Linked DNA regions of Homo sapiens: all the other regions are linked to region 7. The links are contacts of gene promoters, found by promoter capture Hi-C in blood cells and fetal thymus (Javierre and others, 2016). All regions are on one chromosome and are shown on one strand. The core of a region is centred on a gene start or on the middle of the fragment in contact, and the rest is flanking DNA. Distances in the headings are between cores, read along the strand shown.

Region 1 (2,700 bases), core at 145-2,644, 1.0 Mb after region 7:
CATTTTTTTTTCTTTTTTTTTGGTAGGTATTGATAAACTGATTCTAGAATTTATATGACTATGTAAAGCAGCAGAAGCAGCAGTCTCCAACCTAATTTTGGCAGCAGGAACTGGTTTTGAGGAAGACAATTTTTCCATGGATGGGGCAGGGAGGGGGATGGCTTTGGGGTGAAACTGTTCCACCTCAGATCATCAGGCATTCGATTCTCATAAGGAGCACACAACCTAGATCCCTCGCATGTGCAGTTGACAATAGGGTTCGCACTCCTATGAGAATCTAATGCCATCACTGTTCTGACAGGAGGCAGAGCTCAGCCAGTAATGCTCACTTGCCTGACACTCATTCCTGCTGTGTGGCCCAGTTCCTCACAGGCCATGGATTGGTACCAGTACATGGCTTAGGGACTGGGGAGCCCTGATGTAAAGGACCTATAATATTCAAAACAATTTTGAAAAAGAAGAATTTGGAGAACTTACACAAACTGAATTAAAGACTTACTATAATCAAGAAAATGTGGAGATCAGGCACAATGACTCATGCCTGTAATCCTAGCGGTTTGGGAGGCCGAAGCAGGAGGATTGCTTGAGGCTGAGAGTTCGAGAACAGCCTGAGCAAAGTAGCAAAACCCCATTTCTACAGAAAGTTTAAAAATTAGGCAGCTGTGGGCCAGGCACGGTGGCTCACGCCTGTAATCCCAGCACTTTGGGAGGCCAGCGCAGGTGGATCATGACGTCAGGAGATCGAAACCATCCTGGCTAACACGGTGAAACCCTGTCTCTACTAAAAAATACAAAGAACATTAGCCAGGTGTGGTGGTGGGCACCTGTAGTCCCAGCTACTCGGGAGGCTGAAGCAGGAGAATGGCATGAACCCAGGAGGCAGAGCTTGCAGTGAGCCAAGATCGCGCCACTGCCCTCCAGCCTGGGTGACAGAGCGAGACTCTGTTTCAAAAGAAAAAAAAATTAGCCAGCTGTGGTGGTATGTGCCTATAGTTCCAACTATTTGGGAGGCTGAGGAGGAAAGATCACTTGAGCCCAGGAGGTCGGGGTTACAGTGAACTGTGATCACACAATTGCACTCCAATTTGGGTAACAGAGTGAGACCCTGTCCCTAAATTTAAAAAATAAATAAAAATAAAATAAATTTGGTGTTGGTATAAGGATAAATATATAGATAAATGGAATAGAATAGAGAATCTAGAAATAAACCCACACTTATATGGTCAATTGATTTTTTTTTTCCAAAAGTGTGAAGATAATTCAGTGGGAAAAAGGATAGTCTTTACAACAAATGTTGATGGAAGAATTTGGTATACATATGAAAAATAACGTTGATTCTTACCTCATACAGAAAAATTAATTCAAAATGGATCACTATGTTAAATTCAAAAATGAAAATTATTGAGCTTCTAGAAGAAAGCATAGGATAAAATCCTTGTTGTCTTGGGAGGCAAAGATTTCTTAGGACACAAAACCCACTAACTGTAAAAAAATTATAAATTGTATTTTATCAAAAGTATTCTCTTTTGTTTTTGAAAAATGCCATTAAGAAAAAAGGAGATTGTGAGTTGTGGGACAGTTGGAACTTACCTACCTGGCTGTCCACGGCTTAAAATGATATAGCCACTTGACAATTTCTTACAACTCAGGAATTCTACTACTCCCTGGTACAAAGTAAGGAACTACTGCTAGCTGCAACAAAATGGATGAATCTCACAGAAATAATGTTGAGCAAAAGAAATTGGACACAAAAAGTATATACTATATCATTTCATTTCTATGGTGTTCCAGAATAAAGCAAGAATTGCCCTATAATGATGGATGAGTGGTGACCTGTGATCTGGGTAGCCATGGGAGAATTGACTACATAAGGGTTCCAGGGAACTTTGGGGGATGATGCTTACATGACTGCATACATTTTTCCAAACTCCTCGATTTGTACATTTAAAATGGGTGTGTCCATTGTGTGAACATGAACATTGCGTGAACACCTAAATAAAATTCATTTTTAAAACAATATTTACTGATCCAGCACTAGAAGCTAAGCCTCCTGATTTCTAACACAGTATTTATTTTTACTTGCCCCTTTCCCCCAAAATAATATTGGCTCCTTTTCTCTCTATACTTCCTACCTCCCATGGGATGGAGAGATGGAATGTGGGAGGCAAGGCCAGTGTGAGCACTGGCTCTGAGGTTTAGGCCTCGATATTCAGGAGAGTGGTGTAGGAGGAAGATGAACCACTGGGTTTTAGACACATGGAGGCTTAGTTCAGGGCTTTGGGCCTCCCGGTTAGTTTGTTTAGTCTTGTTGATCTAGGAGGAGATCACACCAGATGAAAGGATACAGTTGACTTTGGAGGAGGGTGAAGCAGAGCTGGGAAAAGAATCAGATAAGTCATTAGAGACATAAAAAAATAGAAAGCAATTTTATATATGCCATGGAGGAGAGGTTGTTAGGAGGTACTGAGGAAAGTGCAGACCTAGTGATCTTGGTAAAGTGAACATCAGATCCACAGCTTTGATGTCAGCATGGTTGGGAGTTGGGTGCTCTTGCCTACTTCCTCAGTGACTTAGGAGAGTTTACTTCATGTCACTCAGAGCCAGTCTTCGAAGATGGGGACAAATCATGGTTTATTAATTGATTCTGAGATTCATTCTGATCATTCAATAAGAAAATGTATAAAATGTGCCTAGCACAGA
Region 2 (2,700 bases), core at 75-2,574, 1.0 Mb after region 7:
TGTGTCTGTTTTTGTATCAGTACTATATTGTCTTGATTACTGTAGCCTTGTAGTATAGTTTGCAGTTGGGTAATGTGATACCTCTGGCTTTGTTCTTTTTGCTTAGGATTGCTTTGGCTATCCAAGCTTTTTTTTGGTTCCATATGAATTTTAGAATAGTTATTTTCTAATTCTGTGAAAAATCACAGTAGTTACCTTTTTATAAACATTATTTTGTTACTATTTTCCCAGACTACTAACTGTTCTTCATAAATATGTTTTTTAATGACAGTATAATTTTTGATTATTTGGATATTTGATTATTTAATAACCATGATCCTGTTTGGACATTTGGATTATTCACAAATGTTCACTATTTGAAGAATCAGATTATAAGTAAATATTTGTCCACATATTTTATTGTTTCCTTATAATGGATTTTTGGATGTGGGCTTATTGGATTTTCAAATATATATTTATGGGAATATATTTCATGGAAAGTTTATAAGCTTTTGCACTCTAGGCTTATTTTAATGGTCTTGCACTCTAACAAACAGTGGGTGTGAAAGCTTAATGCCACCTTGTTAGCATTGGTTGTTACCTTTGGAAATAAGTGTAAAAACATTTTATTGTGGTTTTAATTCATATTTCCCTGATTAGTAGTGATTTTGAACATTTTTTCATACTTACTAATCAATTGTCATCTTATAGAGAATTGTCTTTTATATTCTTTGCTAAATTATTAGAGTATCAATATTTTTCTTATTGACTAAAAGTATTCTATAACTTAAGGACATTAATTATTTCTACTGTGTTTGTTGTAAATTTCCTTTCTTGGTTTATACTTTGCCTTTAATTTTGCCTATGATTTTTGACATGCAGGTGTTTTTAGTTTTTATGTAGACATATATACATAAACTTTTCCTTTACACAGATATTGTACTTAGAAAGATATTTCATTTTACAGGAAATTTAACCAGACACTTTTATTTTCTTCTGATTTTTTTAATAGTTATGTTTTTGGTTCTTTTTTGTTTTTTTTTTAGATGGAGTTTCGCTCTTGTTGCCCAGGCTGGAGTACAATGGCGTGATCTCAGCTCACCACAACCTCCGCCTTCAGGGTTCAAGTGATTCTCCTGCCTCAGCCTCCCGAGTAGCTGAGATTACAGGCATGTGCCACCACGCCCAGCTAATTTTGTATTTTTAGTAGAGACGGGGTTTCTCCATGTTGGTCAGGCTAGTCTTGAACTCCCAACCTCAGGTGATCCATCCGCCTTGGCCTCCCAAAGTGCTGGGATTACAGGCGTGAGCCACCACGCCTGGCCTATTTTTGTTTTATATTTAATTACTTAAATCATCTAGAGAATGTGTAATTATGTTTAAATATGCTGTGAGGTAAAGCTGTAATTTAATTATTTTCTCACCAGTTTAGTTTTTCATTTAATCTGTAGGATTATTTTGTCAAGTTCTAAGAGTAAGTTCCAATGGGATTTTTACTGAGATTTTGTTAGATGCATAACTTACTTTGGGAAAACAAACATCTTTACAAACTTAAATATTCTTATTTGGGAATATAGTATTTCTTTTTAGTTACTCAAGTCTTAAGAATACCTTTCACTAATGTTCGGTTCTTCATCTTCAATAGGTTCTAGACATATCTTTGTATGAGTATGTGTAGATATTTTCATTGCTATTAATGAAATCTGTTTTTTTCCAGCTAGGTCTACCAACTGGTCATTTTGTGGTAAAGTTTTATATTTTTATATATTTATCTTTTAAATAACCAGTTTACTAAACTATTAATGGAAAAATTTTCCATTTTATTTATTTTGGGTTTTAGTACATAATATAGTATGTAATTTAGTTTTTAAAAATTGCATGCAATTCTTTCTAATAGTTACACCTCTTTTATTATATATTTTACATTATATTACATGGGCTAGAATATCCAGAACAGTATTAAAGAGTAATAATAGCCGTCTTTGTCTAATTGGTGATTTTATTGATGTGCTTTACCATTAATTCTGACACTAGCTGTTGCTAATATGATAAAGACTATCCATCCTTTTATACTTAGTTTCCTTAAGGTTTAAATTAATAATTGGTGTTGGTTGTTATCAGAAAGCTTTTTGGCATCTATTGAGGTGTCTATAAAGTTTTTACTACTTACTATCAAACTGTACCCAAATGTCTAATAAACTCACCCTGGCAGTAGATAAAGGATCAATAGCATAATGGATACATCCTATCTTTCTTAACCTTTGTCAAATATAGTTTTCAATTAGACTTTCTACACTTTTATTAAGGAATTTTGCAGACATATTCATAAGCAATGCTGCTGTTAGGCTTTAGCGTTAGAATTAGGCTAGCTTTCCATTTTTTCCAATGTTCTGGAAGGATTCATTTTGCATTATTATATTCTATTGCTGGAAAATGTTTAAGAATCTTAGAGGTAAAACTATCTAGCACTGGAGCCTTTTTGTTGTTATAGTTTTCTTTAATCTGCAAGAGTTTCTCATCTGTTCTTTGTCTTACTTGACATTTTTGAGTACAGGGTAAATATTTGCTGGAATATTTCTTATTCTAATATTTCTTTTTGATTAAATTCAAGTCATACTCTTAGGGCACCTCCAGGAGTAATATGTCTTTCTCAGTACACCATGGCAGGAATCACAGTCTATCCCAATATCAGTGTTGTTGACTTTGATCACTTGATTAAGG
Region 3 (2,700 bases), core at 103-2,602, 1.0 Mb after region 7:
CATCTTTCCGGAAAAGGCAGAATAAAAAATGATTCAGGAAATTTTGCCCGGTCAAAGCCCATTTGAATTGTTTTCTCATGAAGATGAATTTTCTGTATCTGAAGTGGCAGCAGGGCAGAGATGAGCCAGCAGCTCCTCTCAGGCCCTGATGTTGTTCTGCTGGCTTCACCATCTCTGCCCTCTTTACTGTGTGTTTAGATTGTTGGCCAGCCTGTCACAGAGAGTGACGCCTCAGCATCAGGGGAGCAAGAGCTTCTCAATGTTGGCTGCACATTGGAATCACCTGGGAAGCTTTAAGAACTACTGATGCTGGGCCCCACTCCTACAGATGCTGCAAATAATCAGTCTGAGGTATGGTCCAGGCACTGGGATTTTAATTTGCAGCCTCTTCTGACACCACACTCTCCTTTCCTTCCTCCCCGACACATCCCCTTTGACAATCAGATTTCACAAGGTCCATCCTTCCACCAAAGTGAATTCTTATTTTGTAAATGCTTCTTAAAATTTCTGGTTTCTGGTTTTCGAACTCACAGCCAATTAGCAGGCACACTGATAAGAGGAAGAAATAAGACCTTTTGCCTCAACCACATGAGAAGACTGGAGCAACTAAGACAAGCAAGTGGAACTCGAAACTATACAAATCAGGACTATGGCGGATTGGGTCACTCCTAAGGACGTGGCTGGGGTGCAGAACAGAGTTCAGGAGATGGTTTTTAATAATGACCAGTAGTCTACACCACCAGTTGCCCACTAAGAAATACATGTGTCACTTTACATATAAGATGATGTGAATTAACTTTATTTTGATTATTTGTTAACAGTTCATCATCAGTGATGAGGAGGTGTATGTTATTTCCTATATTGGGAAGCTCCTTCCTCCACTAAATGTAAATCTATCCATTTGCCATTTTTTAACCGTTCTCTAGACAAGACAGCAGACCATGAGATGCAAGAGTTGTTAATTGGCAGAGCTGTGATTTATCTTTCCTTTGTAACACCCAGGGAGATTGCTCAGGGAATGGAATCTGTGTCTAGAAGCAGTGTGAGGTAAGGCTATTCATGTCTTGAAGTCAGACAGAGGAGTTTGGCTTTGAAGGGATGGAAATGTAGGTTCTCAAACAGAATAAAGAGCCATAAAAAGGGAGCTACAGGGTTGCCAGGTGTAGATGGGAGGCTCTTATGGAGAAGGTGGAACTGAGCTGGAATGAATGGGATTCAGGCAGGTGCAGCCCAAGGCAAGGCCCAAGGGAAAGAAAGGAATTGACAACACCTTCCCTGTCTTCAGAATCAGAAGCAGTGAGAATTCAGCAAGGAAGTAGTCTTAGCTCTTTGGGTTTGAAGAATCTCTTTGGGATATAATTTCACTTTTTCTCTGCCTGGTGCTAGAGTCTAAAGCTGGCAGTGGAAATTCCAAGATAAGTTGTTCTTAGAACCATAAGGGCTGGCTAACAGGCCAGTGGGGACACAGCCTAGAGGGCCAGCAGCTATCTGGGGGCCCTAGGGTTGGACAGGCCCAGGCAAGGTGAGGGCAAAGTCAGGTGACTTCATTTACCCAGGTGCAAAGAAAGGCGTCAGCCTTCAAAGGCTTTCCATTGTTAACAAGCAGACCAGAGGCAACTAATCACTGAATGGAAACTGATAATTTTGCTGCTCATTTATTTTCCCAGTTAATGCTTTTCTTTTTTTTTTTTTTTTTTTTTTTTGAGACGGAGTCTCGCTCTGTCGCCCAGGTCGGACTGCGGACTGCAGTGGCGCAATCTCGGCTCACTGCAAGCTCCGCTTCCCGGGTTCACGCCATTCTCCTGCCTCAGCCTCCCGAGTAGCTGGGACTACAGGCGCCCGCCACCGCGCCCGGCTAATTTTTTGTATTTTTAGTAGAGACGGGGTTTCACCTTGTTAGCCAGGATGGTCTCGATCTCCTGACCTCATGATCCACCCGCCTCGGCCTCCCAAAGTGCTGGGATTACAGGCGTGAGCCACCGCGCCCGGCCCCCAGTTAATGCTTTTCAACACAACCCTTTATATTTCCGAAGAATAAAGACTTGTAAAAGAGATGGGGGAGTTATGGCTGCAGAAAACTGGCCCTTACTTTGCTCTGCTGACAGTTTTATAAGGCCAAGGAAGTTCAAAAAGTAAAAAGACTTTCTAAGCAATTCCACAGAAATTCTAAGCATTTTCAGGAAACCCATTTTTAACTTTAAAAAAATATTAATACAAGATTAGTTGCAGTGATTTAATTAGTAAACCATGACAGATGGTTAACATGCAGCATTTTTTTTTTAATGTGAACAAAATCACCAGTTTTTTTTTCAGTTTGTTTTTTCTTATTAATCTTGGGTAAAGATTCCTTGGGTCTTCAAAGATAACTACTCAGTCTACTTTTTAAATGGATAGTTTGTCTGAATAATTTTGTTAAAGCTTTAGTAAATGAATGTTGGGAGTGTAATTTCCAGAGTACAGGCTGAATGCAATGACCCCTAACACAGCCCAGATCTGGTCACCATGGACTGATGGCAGAGAGGATCCAGATATTTTGGTTGGATTCATGATTAGAGACTAAATCAGTATGATGCCTATGAAAAGGTCTGGTTTTTAAATATTTGCCATGGAGCTAGAGTAGAAGGCAGGGTGACAGAGGCAGCGGTGGCTGGAGTGTAACCAGCCCATGAATCTCAGGCAGGACAGGCTTGCATGCTTCTG
Region 4 (2,700 bases), core at 1-2,500, 1.1 Mb after region 7:
AGCTTAAAAGGGAATTGGGCTGGGTCTGTTAGGACTAGAACATCTTGTGATGCTGTATGGTTGGCTAGATAATGGCTTCCCAAAGATGTTTCCATCCTAATCCCCAGAACCTGTGAATGTCATTTTATATGGCAAAAGATATTTTGCAGATTTGATTAAATTAAGGATTTGGAGATGGAGAGATTGCTCAGGTGAGAGTGATGTAATCACAAAGATCCTTATAAATGGGCCGGGCACGTAGGCTCACACCTGTAATCCCAGCACTTTGGGAGGCCAAGGTGGGCAGATCACCTGAGGTCAGGAGTTCGAGACCAGCCTGACCAACATGGGGAAACCCCGTCTCTACTAAAAATACAAAATTAGCCAGGCATGGTGGCACATGCCTGTAATCCCAGCTACTCAGGAGGCTGAGGCAAGAGAATCACTTGAACCCAGGAGGCAGAGGCTGCGGTGAGCCAAGATCGTGCCCATTGCACTCCAGCCTGGGCAACAAGAGCAAAACTCTGTCTCAAAAAAAAAAAAAAAAATCCTTATAAATGGGAAGCAGGAGCACAGACTGAGCAGGTGGAGACATGATGATGGAATCAATAGGTTGGAGTGATGCAAGGATGGGGTCACCAGCCAAGGAATGCAGGAAGCCCCTGAAAGCTGAAAAAAGCAAGGAAATGGATTCTCCTCTAAAGCTTCCAGAAGGAACACAGCCCTGCCAACATCTTGACCTAACCTGGTGAAACTGATTTTGGTTCTTCTGACTTCCAGACTGTAAAAGCATAAATATATATTGTTTTAAGCCTTTAAGTCTGTGGTAATTTATTACAGCAGCAACAGGAAACTCATTCTCTCTGCAAAGGCGAACAGTGGTGAGAGGAACACAGTGTCCTGTTAGAGACACTTTGGGCTCTGTGTCTGAGAATGGGCACCAGGAAGGTCGGTCTTGGCAGCAATGCTCTCAGTTGCATGGCACATGGCTGGGTACACACGATTCAAATCAAACTAGCAGCTCCATGCATCTTGCCCCATGAAGCAGAAGACAGTCTGTAGCGGGAGCTAGAAACCAGGTGCTAAAAAACAAGCCAGATGCCACGGATGCACATCCTCTCTTTTTGACATTCTGTCTAGGGATAGGTAGATTTTCATGTATCAAAACTGAGAATCCTGGGAAAGCCAGAGATCTAACATAGCCTCAGTGATCAGCTTGATTCCATTGAATAACTGGCCAATCCAAGGAAGAAAAGAATCTGTCAACTCAACTGGGTTTTCTGAATTGACTTTTATTGTTTCAGATTTCATTTATCTCAAACCCCACCAGACACCATCTCAAGATTCCCCAGGCAGAGCACAGATCCTTGGGTTTATCACCAACTTCAAACACCTAAAAATGATCCCCAAAGACAAGACAACCTTCTGTTTCCCAATCATGGAATTTTTCAGGCTGTGTATAGTCTCATGAAAGACAAAAAACATACAAAACAAAGCAAAATAAGACGGCACAGCTTCATGTGCCATAAGCAATAAATGCTTTTTAAAAAATCAGGACTCCAAACATCCTCGCAGTCATGTTTATTTTTTCTTATCTTTAAAAACAAAATGTACACAGTATCTTCACCACATAATTTCAGGGTGGATCTATGATAAACTGTAGTTTGATAAGAGGCAGAGTAAAGACACCTTTATCCTGAGTTTATCCCCAACAATGAACTTTTATAGATGAGGCTTCAAACAAGGCCACATTTAGGGAAAATAAAAGATCTGTGGTGATAAATGGCAGTGCTTTAATGCAGTTTATAAAACAAATCTCCTAAACATTTACTTTCCAGTCAAGCTTCTGGCTATAGCTGGGTTAGTACAAGCAACAAAATGAAAGAAACTTTCCAAACATTGACATTGGCACTCGAAAAATAATAAAGAGAGGTATTAAAACATTTCTAGTATGGTTTCATTCTGAAAACATGTTGAGATAAAATTTCTAAGAATGCAATATAATTACTAGCTGTTTTTTATTTGTAAGAGTTACATATTCTTAGATTCATATGATCAGGTTCACATAAACAAAAGGTTCTTCCTAAAAAATGGAACAATAAGAATATCATCCCACAGGCATGGCAGAAAGGAAGCCTCTGTTCAGTTCTTAGCCTGACCTTAGCCTAGAACATCCTTGGCTTAATTCAAATGATTGTGGTTTTCTTTGTTTTGTTTTGTTTTCTGTTTTTTGTCTCTCTCCCTTCCTTCTGCCCAAAGACCCTTATACATGCACAGACTGGTTTACAAGAAAATGCCAAAAAAAGAAGTGAGAATAGATAAATTTCAGTATATTCTCCAAACCAGTGGTTCTCAAGCTTGAATGGGTACAACTATTGCAAAAATGTAAAAAGTATTTAGAAATACAAAGAATATATTTTAAATGTAATTCTGATTCAGATAGTTCCTAAAATACAGAAATCCTTTCTATACCAAAAGAACGTAATGATTCTGATTGTTCTCTTAACTGGGGAAAGGGAAAGGTGTGGCCTGTCATAAACTGGTTCCATGGATATTTAAAAAGATTTTTCTGGGTAAGAATTAGAAGAAAAAGAAAAGAATCACCCCATCTCCCTTCTTCTCTTGTCAATTGCCTATGTGAAGGGGAGCTGAGTTTTGGGGCCTGAGGAAACAGTGTGGCCCCCAGGCAGGCTCGTGACATACCCCTTCCCTCACCCCATT
Region 5 (2,700 bases), core at 38-2,537, 1.9 Mb before region 7:
ATCACAACTGAGTATCGGATTTTATTAATTTTTTTCTGCATCTATTGAGATGATTATATGTATTTCCTTTCTCCCTCTGTTAATATGCTGAATTACATTGGCTTTTCAAATATTAAGCCAACCTAGTATTTCTGGGATTAATCTCATTGTTCAATATATTATCCTTTTTATATACTACCATTTTTTGAGAAGATATTGTAAGTACCTTTGTAATGAATGTGAATGTTGATAGTGAGGAGAGATGCTGTGAAAAGCTTAATACCCATTTAGTATAACATGGAGAGTAAGCATATTACTTAGAAATAAGTAGGCAAATATCAGAAATACAGTTCAAAGAGTTAAAAGTGATTGTTTCTGAAAGTAGGAGGGTCAGGTTGCTCTTGTTGCGGTTTTTGCACCATTTTACTTCTTAAAATTATAGCTATAGGTCAGGCGCAGTGGTTCACGCCTGTTATCCCAGCACTCTGGTAGGCCCAAGTGGAAGGACTGCTTGAGGACAGGAGTTGGAGATCAGCCTCGACAAAAGACCGACAGCCCACCTCCACAAAAAAAAAAAAAAGAAAGAAAATTAGCTAGCTTGGTGAAAATTAAAATAAAATAAAATTACCAGTATGTGCACATTACTTTGGTAGAAGTAAAAATAATGAGAAAGAGAGAAAACCCTCCCAGTAACTAGTCATTTGTTTTTATGATTCAGCTGGTTTGTATTTTGCATGGTGCATGGTGTGCAAACATCTGAAAATGTCTGTTTTCCACTGTTTGTAACTAACTCTTCCCAGCATGATTTATCAATTAGCCTTTATTTCCTCCCATGACTTATGAATATACCTTAAGCATAGTTGTTTATAATGGGATGTTTCTAAACGACCTATCCTTATCCTGGTACCACGCTGATTTGAGCTACAGGGCAAATGGGTGCACCATGGTGGGCGAGGTCATTCACGGAAAAAAGAATGTGCAGTGGTGCCGAGGTTGGTAAGAGCAGGCGGCTTGTACATGTAAATGCATGGTTTGCAGGAATCTGGGAGTGGATAGGCTGACGGGTGATGAATATTCAAAGCACAACTGTAAGCGACTTTAGTTACAGCGAAACTCTAAGGCACGCTGCCCTTCGGAAGGAAACACGGCATTCCCCAACCTGATAGCCCTCCGCGACGCATTACGCACCGCGGACAGCTGGAGAGGCCGAGGCGCTCTCGCTTTGATTTCGGCGCCTCCGCCCTCGCGGGGAGAGATTGGCTGCGGCCGCGGGACGGGGTAGTGAGCGCGTCACTTCCTGCCGCTGCCAGGCGCGTCCTCCCGCGCGCTATGACGGCCAGCGCACAGCCGCGCGGGCGGCGGCCAGGAGTCGGAGTCGGAGTCGTGGTGACCAGCTGCAAGCATCCGCGTTGCGTCCTCCTGGGGAAGAGGAAAGGCTCGGTTGGAGCTGGCAGTTTCCAACTCCCTGGAGGTCATCTGGAGTTCGGGTGAGCAGCCGCGGACGCGAGGAAACCGGGGCGTGCGCAGAGGGACGAACTCACGCCGTGCTTGCTTCCGTGTGCCGTGCGTGAGAACGTCCGCGCTGACGCTGCGTCCTTTCTTGCGCGTTCCCTCGGTTCCTCCCCTCGACTTCTGGGCGACGTAGGATCGCGCCCAGGAGGGGGCGCTGTGCTGGGTCAGGCGAGGTCTTTGCTAGCTGGGTCTTTCCGGCTGCGCCCCTGCTGGGTGGTGGTTGGGAGTTCGTCTGTGAGGTGTGTTTCTCACAGCTTACACACAAAAGGAGGAAAGCAGGTGTGTGTAAACCTCCAGCAGCCCGATATTGTCAGCTAAGACATTGCACCGTTTCCATGTGATTGATTGATTGATCGATTGATTGATTTGAGACTGTGTCTCGCTCTGTAGCCCAGGCCAGAGTGCAGTGGTGCTATCTCCAGTCACTGCAACCTCCGCCTCCTGGGTTCAAGCGATTTTTGTGTCTCAGCCTCCTGGTAGCTGGGATTACAGGCGCCCGCTACCACGCCGTGCTAATTTTTGTATTTTTAGTAGAGACGGGGTTTCGCCATGTTGGCCAGGCTGGTCTCGAACTCCTGACCTCAGGTGATCCACCCGTGAGGTCAATGACCATAGCCAACATTGAGCTCTAATGGGCTTTTTGTTAAAGGCTGGATAATATGCCAAGCTCTTTGCATGTATACTTTCATTTGATCTTTACATAACTGGCATACTCAGTGGGCTAAATTTGATGGGAGAACAAACAGGAAATGGTTTTATTTTCTCCTTCCACTGCCTTCAAACATGATTTTTTCTTTCCCTCTTCAGTGACGTTTCCTGCAAATTCTATAGTTTTCTTGTCACTTGGTTATAAAAATAAATCACATTTGGGTCAGTATGATTCACTTCCAAGCATTTAAAAGTCCAATCCAATTTAAACCTTCAGTGTCACTTCCAGTTTCTAATCCCTCCCCTGCAGTGCATAAAGGAGGTGTGAGCCATTGTTCTGCTTTTCTGTATCCTCCTCCTCTTCTCACCTGGCTGTCTCTGAGTTTCCTTCTTTCTCCAGTGTGTTGGAGGAGGAGAGAGAGCAAGCCATTCAGGTGACTGATGCTGCTCTGATCCATCCATTGGTGTCCTCTGGGCATGATATCCACATGTGTGCTTTCTCAGGGTATGTTTGTCAGTTGTTGGGAAGTCCCACAGAGATTTTCCTGACATAGGTGACGG
Region 6 (2,700 bases), core at 169-2,668, 1.1 Mb after region 7:
CTGTACTGTGGGGCTGGCATGATGGTGGGTGGGAGGGAGTGGGAGATAGCAGTGGATGAGGTGCCCAGAGCCTGGAAATTCTGGGGCTAAAACCTCTAATGAGGACTGCTCCTCGTCCTTATTACCAAAGTTATTTCTTGTTTTTTATTTAGATATTTGTATCTCAGTGTCTACAACAGTAAAATGTGGCCTAAACCAACTATAGCTCACAGGGATACTACAGTGAGCTGATATTAGAATGAAAGCATTATGACAACAATTTTAAAAATTCTTCAAATAATCCATCTTTTCTTTGGGATAGCCCCACTTTTAAAAATAGTCATCATAATCCACATGTCCCAAAGAGACATACTGCGTGTAATAGCTGTGTAAATAAGGAACCTCTGGACTTTGAGATTCCCCTTGTGGGCCTCTGGAGTGGCTAAAGATTAGCTCCTGTCAGAAGGAATTCATTCCCTTCTTGGAGGTTCAGAAAGGCTTGCCTCCTATTACCAGGTTTCCCCTTCAGGTCAGCACTTCTGTCTTAGCCAGGCTGTGGCTAAGGGACCCTGAGTGTGTGGGACTGATCAGCCTTGCAGCTGATGGAGAGCTCGCCATTGGATTCCAGCTTCTTTTTGGGGGTACCATGAGCCAAACAGTAATCCCTGGTCCAGCTTAGTACTGGGTTTTTTTACCCTAAACTCCCACCCTCTTGTCATTCCTGGAGCTGGGTGAGTCACAAATTTTGTCCCTCATCCCAGTTTTGGAAGCTAGAACAAAATGTGAAAAAGGTTCCAGCACGCGAGGGAAGCCTGTGCTGGAGCCTCTGAGGCTGTGGAGCAGAGGAAGCACTCACAAATCATTCCCCAGCTACCAGAGAGCTGCATGGGAAACGCCCAGAGAAGAACCTTGAAGACTAATGTATGTAGAACTCTTCAGCTGGATCTATCGGCCCAGCTCAAAGAACGTCATAATAACCAGGATGCAAGAGAAGAGTGTTCAGGGCAAGATGGTTGAACTGAGCCCTGGAGCTTGGTGGTGGGCAAGGATGCTTTCTGTGTTGACCCTGCAAATAATAAACATATCTGAAGTGGTTAGTGGAAAAACTACTCAACACTAATGACAAAGCTTCTCTTTTTTGCTTACCCTTGTGATCAACTGGGGTTTTAGATCTCCCCATGATCTCATCCTCTGTGGCATTCAAGTTCTGGATCAAAAAGTATGTGGTCATTCTCCCTTTACCTTTCACTTCAATTTCACCCCTCTCAATGATTTTAAACCCTTGATTTTTCAAGGCTCTGCACAGAGAAAAAAAGTGCATCAGATATCAAAGATTGTGGGTCTGTAACTCAAGAGTTGGCTACAATGCAAAGGGCTACTCAAGAGGAAAAGTCCAGGACACAGGACACACAACAGCAGGGGAGGGAAGATCCCAGACATCTGCCTGCTGAAGCAGGACAGAGGCCGTGGGGAAAGTGAGGATGAGATATTCTGAACAGGATGCCAAAGGCCAAAAGAGAACACAGGGACCCATCAAAACCCTCCCAACCCTGCCACCAATTTTCCTCCCTCCAGCTCAACCCTCATATGGGCATCTCTCACGTTTCTACACACCATGCTGTCAGTGCCCATGTGGACACCACCTTTCATGTTTCTGCCACGTAAGACTCTTGGGTATCAACACTCTTCTTTCCATCTTCCCCAAGTGCACCATATACCCCATGCTTGCTACTATGCTCATCCTAACTACCCAAGCTTTCTCCACCACAATTTCTGTCTGCCAAGGAACTGAAGAGGAGGACTATAGGGAAGGGACCATGAAAAGAGACAGAGCTATGGGGTAATTACAAAACGTTTCCCTGTTTATTTATTTACTAGCCACCAAGTGATGTTAGAGAAAAGCCAAAGAACCACTCAGACCAATGAGGATTCAAATTCATGACCACCTGCCTCGGCACTCCATCGAGCCTTCCCTTGCCCTTGGCCAGGTTGGTAGAGAGTTCAGACCTTCACCACAGTCCTCATGGGCCTCCATTTGGCATCTGCTCCCCTCACTCATACGCTGGTGGCTGTGCCTCCTACTTTATGCCCTGATTCATCTACAAAATTACATTGATTACAGGTGAGAGCCTGTGACTTCTCACCCCATGACCACACCATCCTGTCCCCCAATCTCCGAGGATGAGGTATATTTCTTGTCCAGGGTCTCCTCACCCTCACCCCCTTCCCACCACCTCTGGGCCTTGCTCCATTGGCCACCCCACGCTTATCTTCATCTCCCATTCCATTTGCCTTTCTCCTTCTGCTTTTCAGTGTGCTTATGTCTCTTCCATCCTAAACAGAAACAAACAAAACAGCCTCTCACCTGCTTTAATCTCATGCAAACTTTCTCCTCTTTTTATTCTTCAGCCCAACGTCTATCCCACCATTCTACTACAACCACTTTTGAGAATGTCCCCAAAACCTCTAGTGAGTATTTTTCAGTCCTTATTACTACATTTGACATTTTTGTTCAATTCTTCCTTCCTAAAGTCATCCACAAGAGTGCTTCTCACCCTCAACTCTCCTGGTCCTTTCTGAGTATTTCTTCTCCTGTCTCTTCCCTGGGCTCCTCTTCCTTCTGTGCCACTTAAATATTGGTTCTGCACAGGATTCCATTCTTTTCCCACTGTTCTTTGCACACTGCATCCTTCCCTGGGTTGATCTCATCAACTCTCATGA
Region 7 (2,700 bases), core at 152-2,651:
AAATATTTTCTGAGGAAAACTATAGAATTTGAACTCCATCGTCTATAAATAATGATGGATAAAAAATAATTTAAAGATTACTTATGTATTAAGGTTCTGTACTACATTTGGGAGATCTGAGAATTAAAAGTAAATACACACATACAAGGTGATTATATAGTTATCACATTTAGTATGTGTTATACAAAAATACAGTGGGCAGAGTGTTTCCAGAATTATAAGGAAACTGGGCGAGAGAGTTTTATCATAAATATTAAGAAGTGCCTTTTTATTTCAATGCACTGTCCTTTAAACAATCAGAAACGTGTAAAAAATCAAAAGTGCAGAAGTACAGTTAGAATAAAATAATCCACAAAAAGACAGTACTCTAACTGAAATAATTATATTGGGAAATCTCTCCTTCTAGAACCACATTCCAGAAGCATGAAACTACCTGGGAAAAGTCTAAGAAATAATAAGGTGGTGAAAGAGGCTATGATGGGAGAGGAAGAATGTTAGATAAATTATATGGATTTGGAATTAAAAGGATAAAGCAAGATGCAAAGGAGCAAAGTGCTATTTTATTTTTCAACAGTTAGACCTGTTGGGAAGAGGCCAGTCAGATGAAATTACAGTACCTCTCACAATGACTAAGGAGTCGGGCAATGGGAGGTTTTAGTTGAAATGGCAAGTTCTGACCTGAGGTGCGACTTCAGACTTCTGCAGTCTGCCTTGTTTCGACTTTAGGAGGTGAGAGGAAAATTACTTCCAATAATATAGGATTCAACCTATAAATGATGGGGCTCAAGAGACAGGACCGACAGTCAGGGCAGGAGGAGGAGCAAGACCGGACCTAGAAGCATTCTGAAAATGTGTAGGTTTTCACTGGGGCGCGCCAGAAGGGCACTCTCCGCCCCCTCGCCCGAGGACGTGTGACATCTCCGGAGGAAGCCTCCGAGATTCCTGTGAAAATGGGAGGTCCACACGCCCATTCGCGATGACAGACACAGAGAGGGCTGCGCAGCCTTGAACACAGAACCGGGCCCAGGTGGAGTCCGCCGGCTTCTGGAGAGATCTGCGAGACGAAATGGTGTCGGCGCAGCGTCGCCGGCGCGGCGGGGCAGCGTGGGGACCCTCTGACCCTGAAGGTCCCCCTGCCCGCCGCGCCCGGCCCCCGTGAGCCGTTGGGTCTGGGGAAGGGAGGGCCCTTACCCATGTGCTGCGTGTCCAGCTGCACGGCCGGCATCTCCTTCAGAGGGATGTGGCCAGTCCCCCCGTCTCTGCAGCACCGCAGGCAGCACAACACCGAGGTGGCCATCGCGCAGGGACCACCGACTCCGCCGCCGTCCCTAGACCGAGGCGACACTGCCCCCCGCCGCTCAGCTCCGTCTCCTGCCCCCGCCCGAGGTCCGGACTTGTCTATGTGGAGCTCGGAGGCCGGTACAGCGACACCCTAGGCCGGGAGGGCGCAATGCAGGCTGAGCTTAGGCTGGCCTGCGAGGAAGACGCGGAGAATCAAGGGGCCGGGGAGAGACCGGACAGGGCGAGCGGCCGGGCTGGGCCGGGGAGACGGGTGGGGCTAGTGGCGCGCGGAGGCGTGGCAGGGGGCGTGGCGTTGCGGGCCTGCGGATGTGGGACGGCGTGCGCCTGCGCACCAGCTGGTTTTTTCTCCTTGGGCGGTTTCGCGCACGCCCCCAGGGCTGACAGGTGAGTGGGGCTGTCTGTCCCTCAGTACTTCCAGGGGTTTTCCTATGCAGAATTTTTAAAACGCAGCACCCCTTGGTCCCGGCCTCGACATTATTTCTAGGGATGGATTGACAGAAGCGAATCAGTTTGGGGGAAGGGGAGCTAATGGAAATGACTTCCGAGTTTTCCCTCCGCGGGCCCAGGTTGAGCAGGCTTTGCCACCACGGAGAGCCCCAGTCTCCCTGCCGTGGCTGGTTTCCCTCACATGCTAAATAGACTCACGTGGGCCCCAGGAGTAATGCCTGTTAGTGACTGCACTGTGGATGTTCACCGGGGCTCACGCGGGCCCTAATGCATTTTCGGTGCAGAGACGCGCCCTACCTGGCCCATCGGGCTGCGTGGTCCGGGGCGCGTGGGAGGCCGCCCTGGGAGCAGAACGCTGGGGCGGGGTCGGGGGCGATTCTTGACCTGCCTCTTCCAAGCTCCCCCTGTCTGGTGCACTGAGGGTTCCGAGGAATGTGACGGGAACCCAGGAGGCTGCGGGAAGTCTGCTGGGTCCCGAGGGAAGCCTTCGGCTCCTACCGTCCGCTACTTTCTGCTTCCACACGGGAGGCTGTCACCTGTCATCTCCTTCCCCACTTAGATCATCCTTCCGTGGTAGATTTTACATCTTCAGGCCGGGTGCAGTGGCTCACGCCTGTAATCCCAGCACTTTGGGAGGCTGAGGTGGGCGGATCACCTGAGGTCAGGAGTTCAAGACCAGGATGGCCAACATGGTGAAACCCCGTCTCTACTAAAAATACAAAAATTAGCTGGGTGCGGTGGTGCACGCCTGTAATCCCAGCCACTCAGGAGGTTGTGGCACGAGAATCGCTTAAACCCGGGAGGCGGAGGTTACAGTGAGCCTAGATCGCGCCACTGCCCTCCAGCCTGGGCAACAGAGACTCTGTCTCCAAAAAAAAAAAAAAAAAAAAAAAGATACCGCTTGGCATCTGGAAATGTCTGGGACGACCTCTAGAATTAACCTAGCTCAAA

The links. The method cuts DNA at HindIII sites, captures the fragments that hold promoters and counts their contacts. A CHiCAGO score of 5 or more calls a contact.
Region 1: a fragment that was not itself captured here is called in contact with the fragment with the promoter of SPRYD7 in region 7 in 5 of 17 cell types (total B cells, naive CD4 T cells, total CD4 T cells and 2 more); the score reaches 9.0 in total B cells.
Region 2: a fragment that was not itself captured here is called in contact with the fragment with the promoter of SPRYD7 in region 7 in 3 of 17 cell types (total B cells, fetal thymus and non-activated CD4 T cells); the score reaches 5.6 in total B cells.
Region 3: a contact is called between a fragment that was not itself captured here and the fragment with the promoter of SPRYD7 in region 7, in 1 of 17 cell types (total B cells). The highest score is 6.0, in total B cells.
Region 4: a contact is called between a fragment that was not itself captured here and the fragment with the promoter of SPRYD7 in region 7, in 1 of 17 cell types (fetal thymus). The highest score is 6.3, in fetal thymus.
Region 5: the fragment with the promoter of NUDT15 here is called in contact with the fragment with the promoter of SPRYD7 in region 7 in 4 of 17 cell types (total CD4 T cells, non-activated CD4 T cells, neutrophils and 1 more); the score reaches 6.0 in total CD4 T cells.
Region 6: a contact is called between a fragment that was not itself captured here and the fragment with the promoter of SPRYD7 in region 7, in 1 of 17 cell types (fetal thymus). The highest score is 5.9, in fetal thymus.

The regions. Positions count from the first base shown.
Region 1 is chr13:50,938,408-50,941,107 of GRCh38, forward strand. All of the region lies in intron 5 of RNASEH2B (ribonuclease H2 subunit B), which reads left to right. Among named protein-coding and RNA genes, the nearest start is that of RNASEH2B-AS1, 29 kb to the left of the region's middle. The HindIII fragment of the contact is 6,799 bases long and covers 1-2,700 here.
Region 2 is chr13:50,958,449-50,961,148 of GRCh38, forward strand. It overlaps a transcript of RNASEH2B not described here. Among named protein-coding and RNA genes, the nearest start is that of RNASEH2B-AS1, 49 kb to the left of the region's middle. The HindIII fragment of the contact is 1,556 bases long and covers 547-2,102 here.
Region 3 is chr13:50,976,137-50,978,836 of GRCh38, forward strand. No RefSeq gene overlaps it. Among named protein-coding and RNA genes, the nearest start is that of RNASEH2B-AS1, 67 kb to the left of the region's middle. The HindIII fragment of the contact is 2,127 bases long and covers 290-2,416 here.
Region 4 is chr13:51,080,868-51,083,567 of GRCh38, forward strand. C13orf42 (chromosome 13 open reading frame 42) reads right to left here. Exons shown (of 4, transcript NM_001351589.3): 4 at 1,252-2,700. Among named protein-coding and RNA genes, the nearest start is that of C13orf42, 29 kb to the right of the region's middle. The HindIII fragment of the contact is 1,139 bases long and covers 682-1,820 here.
Region 5 is chr13:48,036,439-48,039,138 of GRCh38, forward strand. NUDT15 (nudix hydrolase 15) reads left to right here and starts at 1,288. Exons shown (of 3, transcript NM_018283.4): 1 at 1,288-1,466. The coding sequence starts at 1,309. LOC124903172 (a long non-coding RNA gene) reads right to left here and starts at 1,554. Exons shown (of 2, transcript XR_007063788.1): 1 at 1,168-1,554. RefSeq lists enhancers at 416-1,292, 1,293-2,168, 1,335-1,574, 1,625-1,784. The HindIII fragment of the contact is 6,950 bases long and covers 253-2,700 here.
Region 6 is chr13:51,005,865-51,008,564 of GRCh38, forward strand. It overlaps the pseudogene GUCY1B2. Among named protein-coding and RNA genes, the nearest start is that of RNASEH2B-AS1, 97 kb to the left of the region's middle. The HindIII fragment of the contact is 627 bases long and covers 1,106-1,732 here.
Region 7 is chr13:49,934,939-49,937,638 of GRCh38, forward strand. It overlaps SPRYD7 (SPRY domain containing 7), which reads right to left and starts at 1,402. Exons shown (of 5, transcript NM_020456.4): 1 at 1,192-1,402. The coding sequence starts at 1,297. RefSeq lists enhancers at 1,213-1,462, 2,333-2,382 and a silencer at 1,503-1,752. The HindIII fragment of the contact is 4,962 bases long and covers 1-2,700 here.